4 separate regions of the Homo sapiens genome follow, and all the other regions are linked to region 1. Evidence: promoter capture Hi-C in 16 types of primary human blood cells and fetal thymus (Javierre and others, 2016). All regions are on one chromosome and are shown on one strand. Each heading gives the region's core, a stretch centred on a gene start or on the middle of the fragment in contact. The rest is flanking DNA. Distances are from core to core; before and after follow the strand shown. Region 1 holds the start of VTA1 (vesicle trafficking 1). Region 2 holds the start of TXLNB (taxilin beta). Region 3 has its middle 7.1 kb from the start of CITED2. Region 4 overlaps UTRN (utrophin).

Region 1 (3,535 bases), core at 276-2,775:
AGAAGTTTGAAACACCATCTGTGGACTACAGCACTGGTCCTTAACCCTAGACGTAACATTAAAATTACATGAGGACCTTTTAAAGATACTGACATTTAGGATCCCACCTAGAACAATTAAGTGAGAATGCCTGGAGTGGGCTTTAAAGTTGATCTTTAAGGGCAGCTGCGGTTGAGAATCAAGAAGTAATAGGAAACAAATAAATGAAAAGTTGTGAGTATAGAAAGAAAACAGTTATGGTTATCCAACTCTGCTTTTCTTCATTGATTTCTCTACCAATCTAGCAACTTTTGACTGGAAAGTCCAAATAGTGGGAGTAAGAGAAAGAGAAAGAAACCATACATTCTCCAGTGGTAGGAAATATGCCGCTGAGATTGGGGAAGAAGACAGAACTGAGTTTCAGGCTGAGTAAAAAAGCCCGACCCAGAATAAGATGATGGACTTTGCAAATAGGTCTAGGCAACGTATGTGGAGTGGGATAATATGAGGACATGGAGCGGTTTCTTCTGGGGGTGAGAGAGTGATCAGAAAATAGTAGGCAGAGGGGAATTTCCGAGCTGGAGATTTTGGCTCTTGGGGATAGTGTGATTTCAGTGAAAACTAGTTTTAAGATGAATTGTCAAAACTGAGGACTGAGATAAAATAAAGAAGGTTATTGGAGGAAGTAAATAAAGTGTACAGTCCTGAAAGATATAAGTAAGGGATGGAGAGGAGAGGAAGAGAATTGAAGTCATTGAGGGTAGAAGGAAAAGTGATGCCTACTGTACAATGGTTAAGAGTTACCAGCGTTGAAAACGTCCCAAACACCCTATCTTACATTAAGACAAGATAATAAATATGAAAATACTTTACAAATTGTTAATCACTCTCCAGAAAAAAAAAAGGTGATCTACAGATTATTCATTCACTAAAATACGTACTAGCCAGCTGAGAACAAAAGTTCAATCTTCTTTAAGCTTCATATGTTTAGCTTAATTTGGCGCGAAATCTGATTATTTTATCCAGTATGTCAACATAGAAAAATTTAATTTACAATTTAAACACATTATTTCTCTCTCATGCAAGTATTGAAATTAAAGTTTCTAAAATCAAAAAGGCTTCTAAAGGACACTGCTATATGGAATATTAATGTGGCATATTAACTGGAAGTGGTAATTCCTGAATGACGCCAAAGGCAATTCTCGCCTTTATACTTTCTCCCAGTCAACATACATTATTTTCTTGTTTTTCCTTTTCTATCCTTCCTTTTGCCACAAACAACAAACCAAACAAAAAAGCAAAACAAAACAAAAACCCTTCCTCCTACCAGCAGAGAGCGCTAGCGCCATGCGCGGCATAAGCGCCAAAATGCTCGGGTCTTCTGTGGGTTCTAACCGCCGAGAGCCAAGCACCCTGAGGTTGTCCCAGCTGGGGATCCGTAGTTGACTTGACGTCGCTGAGCAACGGAAGAGTGGGCAGCATTTGCTCTGAACGCTCGTGCGCGCTACCGCCCAGACGGAAGCGGAAGTGCCGGTGGAGCGCGAGTAGGAAGTGGTGAGTTCGGAGTAGAGATGGCCGCGCTTGCACCGCTGCCCCCGCTCCCCGCACAGTTCAAGAGCATACAGCATCATCTGAGGACGGCTCAGGAGCATGACAAGCGAGACCCTGTGGTGGCTTATTACTGTGAGTCTTTCCGAGTGGCCGCGCCCTTTCTTTCCCAGTTGCATTTTAGGGCCCACACACCTCCCTGAGGTTCTTGGGGCATGCCCCGCCCCCCTCGCTTTAAACCTGAGCTTTGACCTCGAGCCTACCCAGGGAACTCCCTGGGTTCCCACCCCCTGGCAGTAGGAATCCCAAAACACCATGGTGTCCACTGCTTCTCCTATCTTGTGCTTAAATGCTCCAGTACTGACTACACAGGCTCTTGAACTGTGGAATATAATCTTCCAAGGTTTTCTCTGTGTGTGTACACACAAGAGCTTCTTGTCTCAAATAGGAATCCTGAAAATAAATTGAGTTAGGTTTAAAACGAAGGTGAGTGTCCGAAAGAAGGAGTGATGTGGATAAAAGGACGATAGACTAGTTGAAAACATAGTAATAAGTGAATATTATTTATGACAGCATGCAAGCCCAATCAGAAACTCATTTGGTTAAATGGGGAGTATCTGCTACTAAATAAGCAGTTGAATTTGACCTTTCCCCACCCAGCTGCTCTCTCCTACCATGCAGAATTTTTAGTTTTGACTTCTTTGAATAATACCCGCTGTTGAGACCTTTGAAAGCAGTATTTTCACTTTGAGTGTTATACGTTGAATTTACAGTTTGATTAAAAAAAATATAGGTTAACTCTGCTCAAACTTGTAGTGAGTAAAGGGAGTGCCAGTAATTCTGTGTTAACTTTATTTTGTATTCTGTACTCTTAACTTTACTGCAAATAAAACAAGTAACTGGACAATTATAATTCTGAAAAGGATATTTAGAGTTGAGAAGTTGGATATAATGCGTCCATTGTTGTGTATATTGTAAGGTTAGCTAAAATCTGGTCACTGTTATCTCTGCCATACTCCAAATGTACCCTGTTTCTCAAATGTGCAAGGCCTTTTCAGACCTACCATCTTCCACTCTCTTGGAATGTGCACCTTTTTCTTGCACTTGGCAAACTCATGATTCAAGATCTAACCCAAATGTCACCACTTCTGTGGGCAGCAAATTGATTATTCTCTGTGCATTACTTCATTTTGTTCAAATTTTACAGCATCATTTTTATTATACTTGTTCTTCAGTTTCCTCAAGCAGGGTCCATATTCATTCAGTATGTGTTCATTGAGCTACCTTTGTATCAAGCATTAGTAGGCGCTGTGACTACATTTGCTGCATTTTTGGAGCTTACATACAATGGAGGTAGAGAGTTTCAACAATATAGAGTCTATCATACATAGAGTATTAAAAGCTTATGAAGACAAATAGAGCAAGGAAAAGGAATAAGAGTATCAGGAGTAGTGGTGGCAGGGAGTGCAGATGGGATTTCAGTTTCATAGTGGTCAGGAACACTTCACTGAATTGACATTTGGGGAAATAAAAGAGTGAAAGGCATACCTTGCACCATCTGGGAAAGAGTATTCTCCATAGAGGTTATAAAAGTCCCGAAGTAGAGGCTTGCTGGAAGGAGGAGTAAGTAGACTATTGTGACTGGAGTGGATGGGGCTTGGGAGTGATGGGATAAGGTCAAAGAATCTCTCATCCCTAAAGGAAATTCCTGTTCCCGATCCCTGTATCATGTATCTTTGTGACAAACCAGGGACACCTTACTCACTGTCGTCCTTTCCCTCTAGATTTTTCTAAACCTAATCCAGTTTCCTTTATTTAAAAATATAACATAAACTCTCACCATATCATTCCCTAAAGTTGCAGCTCTGCTTTTCCAGCCTTATAGGTAAGTTTGAAATAGTTGTCCATAAGTTAGCTTTACGCCTTTATCTTGTAGAGCCTTTCAGCCCATGCAGTCTGGTTTTCATGCCCAGTATTTCACTGAAACTGCTCTCATCAGGCTTATGAA
Region 2 (3,535 bases), core at 482-2,981, 2.9 Mb before region 1:
CTACTTGGGAGGCTGAGGTATGAGAATTGCTTGAACTTGGGAGGCGGAGGCTGTAGTGAGCCAAGATCGTGCCACTGCACTCCAGCCTGGGTGACAGAGCAAGACTTCGTCTCAAAAACTAAACAAAACAAAAGCATGATGATACTTATAACAACAATTCCTTAAATTTCTATAATACTCTTTTATTCCAATATATAAACCAATTTTTTAAAAGAGAAAAACAGATTACAACTTTCTCTTCTAAGTCAGGAAGCTCTAGAAAAACTTAATGATTTTTAAGAAGTAGCAATGTTTCATAAACAAGGAGGAGACCAACTCGAGAAATAATTCAGCAATAATAAGGGCCCTTAGGAAAGGGTGAGAGATGGTACTGAGTCAGAGATTCCAGGGTTTCTGACTATTACCACTTCTAGAGTTGCAATAGATTTGGTTTAGGCCTTTAAGTTATGGTGCATTTTATTTGTAAATAATATTTAACAGTGATGCTGCTAAATAGCAGCATAAAAATGTGGCAAGATCCTCATAATTCACAGGTTTTGCTGTTGTGGTAACATGAAAGTGAAAACAAAAGCATACTGTTCTACAACTGCACAGCTTCCTTTTCCTGTTCTCAGGGCAGTAGATGTCAATTGAATGCTCAGACACCAACAAGAACAGAAAATTCAACACACAGATGTTGCCACTGACTTGTGATGCTCACCAAACACTCATAACTTAGAGGAAGTACTTTTTTTCTTTCACTGGTTTGAATTCACCAACTTGATTATCAAATAATGCAGCAGTTTCATTATTTTCATCACTGGGATTTCTTTTCCTGACCTCACTTGTTGATTGCACTCATCTATATATAACTTAGGCCTCCCCTGAACACGGAGAAAGACACACGGCACCTGCTGTCCAGCCAGAAGTTATTTTAAGCTATTCTAAAATGAGTCATGCCGTTTAGCACTTCATCCTTGAAAATCAAGAGAATCGTTTTTCAGTCAAATTGAAAACAGTAAACATTTAGTGGCTTAAATCCATACATGGGTTTTAAAGTCGGGGAGACTATCTTAGGATGAAATAAAATCTCAAGTAAAATGAACTTCAAAATAATTAATTTAAGATAAGCTGTCCATAGGAGTTTTACTTCGGTTAGTCTAAATGCAAGTGGCTGTTTGTATTTGATTTATTCTTCATGAGATGCCACAATCATTGATTTTTTAAATTCTTAATTCCATGGCTATTCTTTAAACTCCTGTTCCACATTTACTTTAAAACAGAACAGTCATTATAAAGCCCAGGACAATTCAATTCCCAAAAGTAGCCTCAAGACAAGTTAACAAGAGGGAAAAAAACAAAGTCAGAGAACTTTGTTACTTTTCAATCATCCATTTTATATTATGTGGCAAAGAAATTATTTCTAACTTTTATCTTATATAAACTTTATTGCCTTATTTTCCCCTCCCCAGGGAGAGAACTTTTCACTTGTGTTGGCTATTCCAGATGACTATCACAGACACATCCCTCCCTAAGCAACACATTTTATTTATAAATACAACAATGAAAAGTTCTCCAACAGTTCACTGGCAATCTCAAAGTTGCAAGTTTCGAACACCACAAACCGCACCCTATACCTTCTCACAGGGCTTGGGGGAGTGTTTGTCATACTTACCAGAAGGCAAGAAGCTAAGCAAGAAGAGAGAGGAGAGGAAGGAGGCAGGAAAAAGCAAGTCAGAGCTGCAGCAACAGCAGGAGAGGGCGGGCTGGCTGTGTTCTTACAAGGGAGAGAGAAACCCAATACACACACACACACATACACACGTGCACGCACGCGCGCGCACACACACACACACACACACACGCCACAGGCACTGATGGAGGCAGCAGTCTGGAGGAGGTGGGGGTAGGGAAAGGAACATCATATGACACAGCAAGGGGAAAATACACCCAAGCTTCCCTAGCTGTTGCCAGGGGAAATACCTTAGCAGAGAGAAGCAGCTGGAAGATCTCATTAGACTCTCCATGTTTTGTTTGTCCTTTCGGAAATTTAAACTCTGAGTATATTACCCCCGTTGCAAATGCAGTCTTTCACCATTGTTGTCCTTTTTGGGTAGAGATCAGTTTTTCTTACTTCTTGGGTTATCTCCAGTGTGGTGGAAGATTCATCTTCTTTTTCTTCTTCTTCTTGCACTAGCTTAATTAGTGTCAGGTTTCTTACAGGAATCATGGAAAAAGAAAAACAATGGCATAAGAACAGGGAGGTGGTGGAACCATTTTAATTCTGATGTCATTGTTTGGTTTGTTTGCAAAGTTTGAAATAAACATGTAGATGGTGATTTTGGAGCTGAACTGAGTATAATCTTCATGCACGTGGTAATTGGTGTGACCTTGGAGCACAGTCTTTCCCAGGTAACTCTTCCCATCTCAAACAAACCCTCAGGGAAGCAGTCTGCTTTTTCTTCCTTAGTTGGTGGCTTTCCCACATTTTGTAAATCCTCAACATGCTCCTTGATCCTCCTCAGAAAAAGAAATTCCTTCTGATTCACCATAAAATGCCTGTCTATTAATTTACATCCATTTGCCTTTTATTTTTCTTTCTGGAGCTTGTGTTCCCATACTTCCAAAGCAGATTCCTCCATCGGTTTCTGCTCTGGGGACAGGCTAGGCATAGTGGCATCCCTTGTGGGAGGCAGAATAATGCCACCCAAAAGATCTCCACGTCCTACTCCCTGGAACCTGTGAATATGTTTCTTTACATGACAAAAGAGACTTTGCAGATGTGAGGAAGGATCCTGAGGTAGGGAGGTTATCTTGAACTACTGGGTGGGTTCAATGTAATCATAAGGGTATTTATTTATTTATTTATTGAGACAGAGTCTCGCTCTGTCACTCAGGCTGGAGTGCAGTGGTGCAATCTCAGCTCACTGCAACCTCCCGGGTTCAAGCGATTCTCCTCCCTCAGCCTCCCAAGTAGCTGGGATTACAGGCGCCTGCCACCACATCCAGCTAATTTTTGTATTTTTAGTAGAGACGGGGTTTCGCTGTGTTGGCTAGGCTGGTCTCGAACTCCTGACCTCATGATCCGCCCACCTCGGCCTCCCAAAGTGCTGGGATTATAAGCGTGAGCCATTGCACTCAGCCTCATAAGGGTCTTTATAAATGAGGGAGGAAGGCAGTAGGATTGGAGGCAGAAAAGGAGATTTGATGACCTCAGCATAGGTCAGGAAGCTTCTAGAAGCTGGGAAAGGCAAGGAAACAGATTATACTCTAGAGCCTCCAGAGGGATGCAATCCTGCGACATTGATCTTAGATCAAAGAAATTCGTTTTGGATTTCCGACCTCCAGAAATATAAAATAGCAAACTTATGTTATTTTTAAGCTGCTAAATTTGTGATAAGATGTTATGGCAACAAAAGGAAATGAAAACATCCCACCCCCAGTTTTGTCCTACTTATTCTCTGAGTTTAGGGGAGGCATAAGTTATATATAGATGAGTGCACCCAACAAGCAGAAGTCAGGATAAAGAAATTCCAGTGTTGAAGACAATGAAGCT
Region 3 (3,535 bases), core at 605-3,104, 2.8 Mb before region 1:
ATCAGCCTGAATCTTATAATCAATATTAAAACATAATCGCTGGCAGGCAGTTGGGCGAGTTGTAAAGCGGTCATATTTATGTGCCAGAATTTAGTAACTAACATTCTCATTTAATAGAGTATAGAATTGGGAGGGTAAGGCATTGGCTTAATTTCTGAAAGAAACTGTTTATTTCCAGCAAGAAGGAATTCAGTTAAGGAAAAAAAAACTGAAACCGCAATTTAAATCACTGATATTCTTTCATTTGACTTGAAGTGCTAACGAGGTCAAAATATTAAGAAGGGGTAAGCAGCTCACCATGAGGCTACTCATGCACTTTCAGGGGTCACACTTAATTTGGAGGAATTTTTATACCAAATTTGAAAAAGCGTAGACCCGAATCTTGTGAATCCCAAAAGGAAACGGTGTGTGATTGTACGGATAAATACATGGTATAGTTGTGTTCATATATTTTAGAACTTGTGTTCATGTAATGTAATGGGTTTTTCTCTTAATCACTTATTGATCATTTTACAATCAGTGGCATTTAAGAATAGGTGTCATTTGGTTTATCACAGCAGCACTGCGTCTTAGAAAGAGCACTGACTCGGAAGCTAGGTCTGGAAACTACTCTGCTCCTCTATCCGCTACTGTGTTGTCCTTGAGCAGTTGACTTCCTCTCTAAATGTCAATTTCCTTATGTAAATTTGGAAGAATATCATGAATCTTGCAAGCATATTGTGAGCATTAAATGAGATTATGTATGTAAAGTGCCTACCACAATATCTGTCACATAGTAAGTGCTCAACCAAGGCAGCCACAGGAAACTTATGGTCAACAGAGAGATTTGTTAAGAGATGTTGATTGAAGGGTAAATTTCTTCGATTTGATCCCATGCAGTCTAAACAGTGTTTCTTACCATTTAAAAATCTATGCCCTATCAGTCAAGAAGATTTTGAGGCCAGGCGCAGTGGCTCACGCTGTAATCCCAGCACTTTGGGAGGCCGAGGTGAGTGGATCACGCGGTCAAGAGATTGCGATCATCCTGGCCAACAAATACAAAAAAACTAGTTGTGCATGGTGGTGCGTGCCTGTAGTCCCAGCTACTCAGGAGGCTGAGGCAGGAGAATCGCTTGAACCCAGTAGGTGGAGGTTGCAGTGAGCTGAGATTGCGCCACTGCACTCCAGCCTGGCAACAGAGCAAGACTCTGTCTCAAACAAAATAAATAAAAAAATAATAAGAGTTTGAAATGTCTTTCTACATTTTGTTTTACTAAAAGAATGTGTATTAAAACATCTGTCCAAATATAGTATGGAATATGTTTTTATAAGTTACTGTTTTCTCTCCCTTCTCCCCAGCCTGAGAGGTACCTCTACCCAGCTGAGAACTATTGATCCAAAAAATGGTGTCAGAAGGGGATCTTAGAAACATTTAGATATTTAAGTTCATATTAGGAACATAACAGTCAGTTCAATCATTTTTCACCTACTGGCCTCATCGTCCTTATGTTTGCTAAACACATAGGGTGAAGAGAGATGTATGAAACTGGTCATCATCTTGCTTATCCTCCTTTCAAGAGTTATCCAAAATACATGCAACGGGGCCATATTTACAAGGTGATCTAAGAATGTGTATGCACAATTGAAGTATACTATATGTGCTTTAAGGAGATAGCAACTGTCATGAAGCAAAAAACCCAACGGAACCCAAACCAAACCCCAAACCCAGTGGGTTACGAGAATAAACCACCACCACTAACAACAATAAAATTCTGTGGCCTAGTGACTAAGGAAATCACAAGGCCAAATGTTATACCAATCCATAGGAAAACCCAAAGAGAAAAGACCTCAATAGCCTCCAATCCCATTTCCTTCACTGTAGCATGTGTTCATAAAAACAGTACTGACAATCTGGAGTTGGCTGACTTTTCCTGATTTTGTGCTAGTTTGACTTGCACTCAAGCCTTAATTTTGCTCCCCACTCAGCTTTCAGGAATGGACAGGCAGAATTCTTTGGGCACTATTAACTTTTCAAAAGCCACTCGCCTATTTGCATATCTCCTGCAATGCGCACCACGCTAACCTTGCCTTGCTACAGGCTCCTCAGGAGACAGATTCCCCTGTCGGCTTTGTTCAGCAACCCAAAATGTAATCAAGTAACCACTCTACTGTAGAGGGAAGAAAGGGAGGGATTTCAGGGCTGAGCACAATGGTGATACCATGGGAAAATTCCAAGAATTCCGTGAACCACAGTCCTCACCCCTGGTTGTGCCCCTGCCTCACTAATCTTTCAGATTAGTTCAGCCTAATGAAAACTAATAACATATAAAGCAAGTAATAATATTCACCGTCCATCTTTCTTTCATGTGCTTTTTGCTCACTCTGCAAGTCCTGATTTAGCCAAGCTGAATTCTCAAAAAGCACCACTAACTGCCTCCTGGGGCTGCTTCATTTAGTGCTCCTCTAGGGGAAGGAAGTAACTGATAAGAATCCAGCCGCTAAAAAGTCATTATTTGTTCATAGACAGTATGGAAGAGGTCGGTCTGATAGTTTCTCTTTCCCAAGGATCATGGATTCAGTTCCTCAACACAACAGACTCTTACTTATCATAGCTTTTCTTTCATTGTGTATAAATATCAAAATATGATAGAAATTCACGCCAGCCGCTCTTAGAATATTTTCTCACTCTTTAGCATTACTGCATTACTTATGAGTTTAATTTCTTCCTGGGAAGGGAAGAAGTTCTTTATTTCAGATGTTTTAATATTTTTTTAAAATATAGGTAGGTCTCACTACAAGGCAAACTAAAATTATCAGCAGTATGTTATTTGATGGAAAATATTCTTATATTTCCTTTTCCAGTTTAAATTAAAAGTATGGCTACCAGGAAAAAAAAAGAATCATTTTTCTCCTTGCTGCATAAAAATAGGTCAAGTAATTTAAGCCAGTCCATTGCAATTAAAATTCTGACATTGCCATTGTTCCTTCTATTCTAGGGGGAGAAGACAAACAGAGCCCATGATAATAGGGGTTCACTGGCTGAGTCATTTGATGTGCTACCTATTGTTCTCTTCTGGAGGCTCAGCCTCAACCTGCCTGGGAGCGCTGATTTTGATGATAGTGGTGCAGTCCCAAAATGATAAATACCATCTCTGAAGCATGCATTTCTGAAGAGGTGTACTGCTGCTTTCATGCTAGCAAAACATTTCCACTGCAGAGGAAAAAATTGCCAATGGCATGGGTCTTAAATTCCTTGAATTCTAAATTTATTTATTTTTTGGAGACAATGTTATCTGCCCAGTTTATTTTAAAGTAAATTTTACTGACTCAATTAGACAGCAACACTCATCCTCATTAAAGATCCTGCAGTCCTTTCACAAGATTAGGGCTGGTGGCTTGGTCACATTCCAATGTGGATAATTGCATTCTGCATTCCTGGATATTTCCCTCCACCTTTCCAACCTCATACCGTCAAATGCATTGTTATTTACCCTTACTGCAAATCAACAGTCCTGTTGTGGAGGCGCTGAGGGTTTGCCATCCCCTCAGTTTGCAG
Region 4 (3,535 bases), core at 673-3,172, 2.2 Mb after region 1:
TATGTAACGAAACTCCTAAGGCCAGTTGTATACCCAGGGCAAACGCCTTCTAACATCTTTATTTATCTACGCAGTGGGTAGGGAGGTGGGTGGAGTGCCCCTTCCCAGCTGATACTGTCAAAACAGGAAGCAAAGTTATAATCTCTGTCATAGGAACATGAATAGAGGCCCTTAGTTGTGACTATTAAAAAAACAAAAAACCTGCCTAAGGAGTTTTCACTGACTACAAAGTGTAACTTCCTCTCTGGTGTTTAGAGGAGGTGGGGTTAGGTTTAGTCAGATCCTCTCATGGGAAAAATAAAAGCCACCAAAAAAAAAAAAAAAAAAAACCCAAAATAACACAGGACATCCCAGTGTGCAGTTCGAAGGCTGCTTTTGTTGTCCACTTCCTCCACATCTTTTTCCTCATCATCTAAGCAGATGTAGGTGATGAGCGGCCTGGCAGCCACCACGTTTCATTGGAAAAAGTGCAGATTGGATTTGCCAGGGCATGTAGCTCTCCAGGCTTGCAAGCGATTACCAGGTAAGTTTGTCAACTTGCACGACTCCCAGCCAGTGAGGTTTTCTTAAGAAACGTCTATGAAGACAGGGTTCTTTCATTCAGTTTTGTTAAGTAACAAAGCTTAGGACCAGGCTGGTGACGGGAACAGACAGCCTGTCTTTCCTGCTGCCACGTCTGTTGTGGACCCTCAAGAGTAGAGACCAACGCTGTCTGCTTCACACTTCTCTTCAGGAAGTGATAATTCACCAGAGTTATTAGTTTCTTTGGAAGAAGCCTTCCAGGATCCCTATATTTGTGGTAGCAAATATGCTTCACTTTACCTCCCTGTATTTTCAAAATAGCTTACTCTGTGCTGTTTACTGCCATCTAGAGAAGAAGCCTCCTTTGTGGTGTTGAGTATTGGTAGACCTCATCCCATATTGTATTTGATTTACTCTGTTGGCTAAAAAGGCATTTTACTTCTTGAAATATTTAGTTTTGACCTGAGAAAGGGGAGAATAAAACGTTTGTACTTTGGGGGACAGTATGAGTGCTGGGGTTTCTGTTTCAGTGCAGGCTTGTCTATGAGACATGCATATGCATAACTTCATGCAGGGAAAGTGTCGTGCACTTTTCTCTCGCTGAAGTTTACTTCCGGGGTGACTTAGTTTTTCTGATCAGTTTAGATGTTCATATCTTGTTTAATGTATACATGTGTGTACTGGTTGTATGAGCTTTTGGAGGGGAAAAACCCCAAGTGATGTGTTTTATTCGATCATACATATCATGCATGAATGTTGTCACTATGAAAAAACTTTGAGACTGGTTGGTTTTCTTTTTCAATGTTTTCCTTTCTTGTGGAATTACTCTTTCCCTCTTAATGTTTTCCTTCTTAGCTTCAGTGAATGAGGTGGTAAGGGGTTGTAGCGTTGTCTCTGCAGAGCAAATTCAAACCAAAATGATTGGAGCAGCCCATATTTTCTTAGTGAATTGGGTTTCTTGAACAAGTGGCATAGGAGACTGGTGTGCTACAATTCTCATCATTAACTGTTACTTCTTTCTTAAATAACCATGTGATCCCAACACAACATCAAAATACCTCTCAGGGACCTGAATTAAAACTCCACGCGGGCCAGGCACAATGGCTCATACCTGTAATCCAAGCACTTTGGGAGGCTGCGGCATGAGGATCACTTGAGGCCTGGAGTTCGAGACCACTCTGGGCAACACAGGGAGATTCCATCTCTACAAAAAATTTAAAAATCAGCCAGGCATGGTGGCATGTGCCTGTGGTCCCAGCTACTTAGGAGACTGAGGTGGGAGGATAGCTTGAACCTAGGAGTTTGAGACTAGTGAGCCACGATCATGCCGCTGCATTCCAGTTTGGACAACAGAGGGATACCTTGTCTCAAAAACCTGCATAGGGGCAGCAATTGCAGGCTTGTGGCCTTTCGAAGATTTCCTTTGATTGTCACTAAATCCTCTCTCTTTCCCCACCATTAAGAGTCTCTGTGGTCAGCTAGTCTTCATCAAAGGGTCTTGCTACAAAGGGTCTAGGGTAACCTTAATGATTGAAATCAGAAGACAGCTAGAAGAAAAGTACAAACAAACCTTTAAATAATAAGCAGGCTTTGGCCGGGGGCGGTGGCTCACGCCTGTAATCCCAGCACTTTAGGAGGCCAAGGCAGGCGGATCACCTGAGGTCAGGAGTTCTAGACCAGCCTGGCCAACATGGTAAAACCTTGTCTCTACTAAAAATACAAAAATTAGTCGGGCGTGGTGGCACGTGCCTGTAATCCCAGCTACTTGGGAGGCTGAGGCAGGAGAATCACTTGAACCTGGGAGGTGGAGGTTGCAGTGAGCCAAGATCACACCATTGCACTCCAGCCTGGGTGAAAGAGCAAAACTCTGTCTCAAAAAAAAAAAAAATAAAATAAAAAAGCAGGCTTTTAAATGAGTAGCTACAGTGTTAAATATATTTAAATGCTGTGCTGGTTGAGTTCTGGTTCATTTAGATAACATTCTTTCCTGCCCTATGACCAATCAAAAGGCTTTAGGAAAATAGCATTTTTAAAATTAAAATGTATTTCAGTGCATGTTATTTTAATAAAAATAGAAAACCAATGTGTACATGATTTCCAATTTCACAAGGGCCTAGATTCTCCTCTCATCAGTTGCTATTGAACTGATTTTTTTGTGTGTGTCCATAGTGTAGGCTCTTTAGTCATCTTGTTAGAAATAAGGACATTAAATTTAATGTTAAAAATAATATTTTCAGCCAGGCACAATGGCTCATGCTTGTAATCCCAGCACTTTGGGAGCCCGAGGCGGGCAGATCACCTGAGGTCAGGAGTTCAGGCCAGGAGCCTGGCCAATGTGGTGAAACATCGTCTCTACTAAAAATACAAAAATTAGCTGGGTGTGGTGGTGGGTGCCTGAAATCCCAGCTACTTGGGAGGCTGAGGCAAGAGAATCGCTTGAACCCGGGAGGCGGGGGTTGCAGTGAGCTGAGATTGCGCCACTGCACTTCAGCCCGGGCATCAGGGCGAGACTCTGTTTAAAAAAAAAATAGATCTCTATCTCTATCACTATCTCTCTGTCTATCTATGTATCATCTATCTATCTATCTATCTATCTATCTATCATCTATCTATCTATCGATCTCTATCTTTATCCAGCTGTATCATCATTTTCACTAGATGCTAACAATAATATAACTGAGATAAACCAAAGTTTCAAAACAAGCTTGAAAATGTGAAATGAATAATTTGGAGGCGGGACTGGCCATTTAGGCATCTATGAAGGCCCAGATGACTCATGTCTGGAAATTGCCACTGCTCAGGAAACCACTCCTGGGAGCCCTGCTCGTTTTGCCATCCTTCCTGCTTTCTTGCCTGCTGACAGGACTCTATGTCAGCTGTTTCCTTTTTAGATGGAAGGGTTAAAAGATTCACTACTTGGGTCCCCCATTAGAATCACCAACATGCTTGTGCCCCACAGTCAGAGATCGTGACTTGATTGGACTGAGGCCCTGCTCTGTAGCTTGTCAAAAGC

The links. The method cuts DNA at HindIII sites, captures the fragments that hold promoters and counts their contacts. A CHiCAGO score of 5 or more calls a contact.
Region 2: the fragment with the promoter of TXLNB here is called in contact with the fragment with the promoter of VTA1 in region 1 in 6 of 17 cell types (total B cells, naive B cells, non-activated CD4 T cells and 3 more); the score reaches 11.6 in total B cells.
Region 3: a contact is called between a fragment that was not itself captured here and the fragment with the promoter of VTA1 in region 1, in 2 of 17 cell types (total B cells and fetal thymus). The highest score is 6.7, in total B cells.
Region 4: a contact is called between a fragment that was not itself captured here and the fragment with the promoter of VTA1 in region 1, in 1 of 17 cell types (activated CD4 T cells). The highest score is 6.1, in activated CD4 T cells.

The regions. Positions count from the first base shown.
Region 1 is chr6:142,145,738-142,149,272 of GRCh38, forward strand. It overlaps VTA1 (vesicle trafficking 1), which reads left to right and starts at 1,526. Exons shown (of 8, transcript NM_016485.5): 1 at 1,526-1,662. The coding sequence starts at 1,551. It overlaps NMBR (neuromedin B receptor), which reads right to left and starts at 1,385. Exons shown (of 4, transcript NM_002511.4): 1 at 1,307-1,385. RefSeq lists enhancers at 1,255-1,549, 1,313-1,452, 1,707-2,227. The HindIII fragment of the contact is 1,973 bases long and covers 955-2,927 here.
Region 2 is chr6:139,290,267-139,293,801 of GRCh38, forward strand. TXLNB (taxilin beta) reads right to left here and starts at 1,732. Exons shown (of 10, transcript NM_153235.4): 1 at 1,655-1,732. The region is part of intron 4 of LOC102723690 (a long non-coding RNA gene); the gene reads left to right. RefSeq lists enhancers at 447-506, 707-956 and a silencer at 566-860. The HindIII fragment of the contact is 5,007 bases long and covers 1-1,932 here.
Region 3 is chr6:139,365,813-139,369,347 of GRCh38, forward strand. No RefSeq gene overlaps it. Among named protein-coding and RNA genes, the nearest start is that of CITED2, 7.1 kb to the right of the region's middle. RefSeq lists an enhancer at 3,007-3,535. The HindIII fragment of the contact is 4,905 bases long and covers 1-3,535 here.
Region 4 is chr6:144,343,782-144,347,316 of GRCh38, forward strand. The region is part of intron 2 of UTRN (utrophin); the gene reads left to right. Among named protein-coding and RNA genes, the nearest start is that of SNORA98, 60 kb to the right of the region's middle. RefSeq lists enhancers at 1,253-1,753, 1,754-2,254. The HindIII fragment of the contact is 2,604 bases long and covers 621-3,224 here.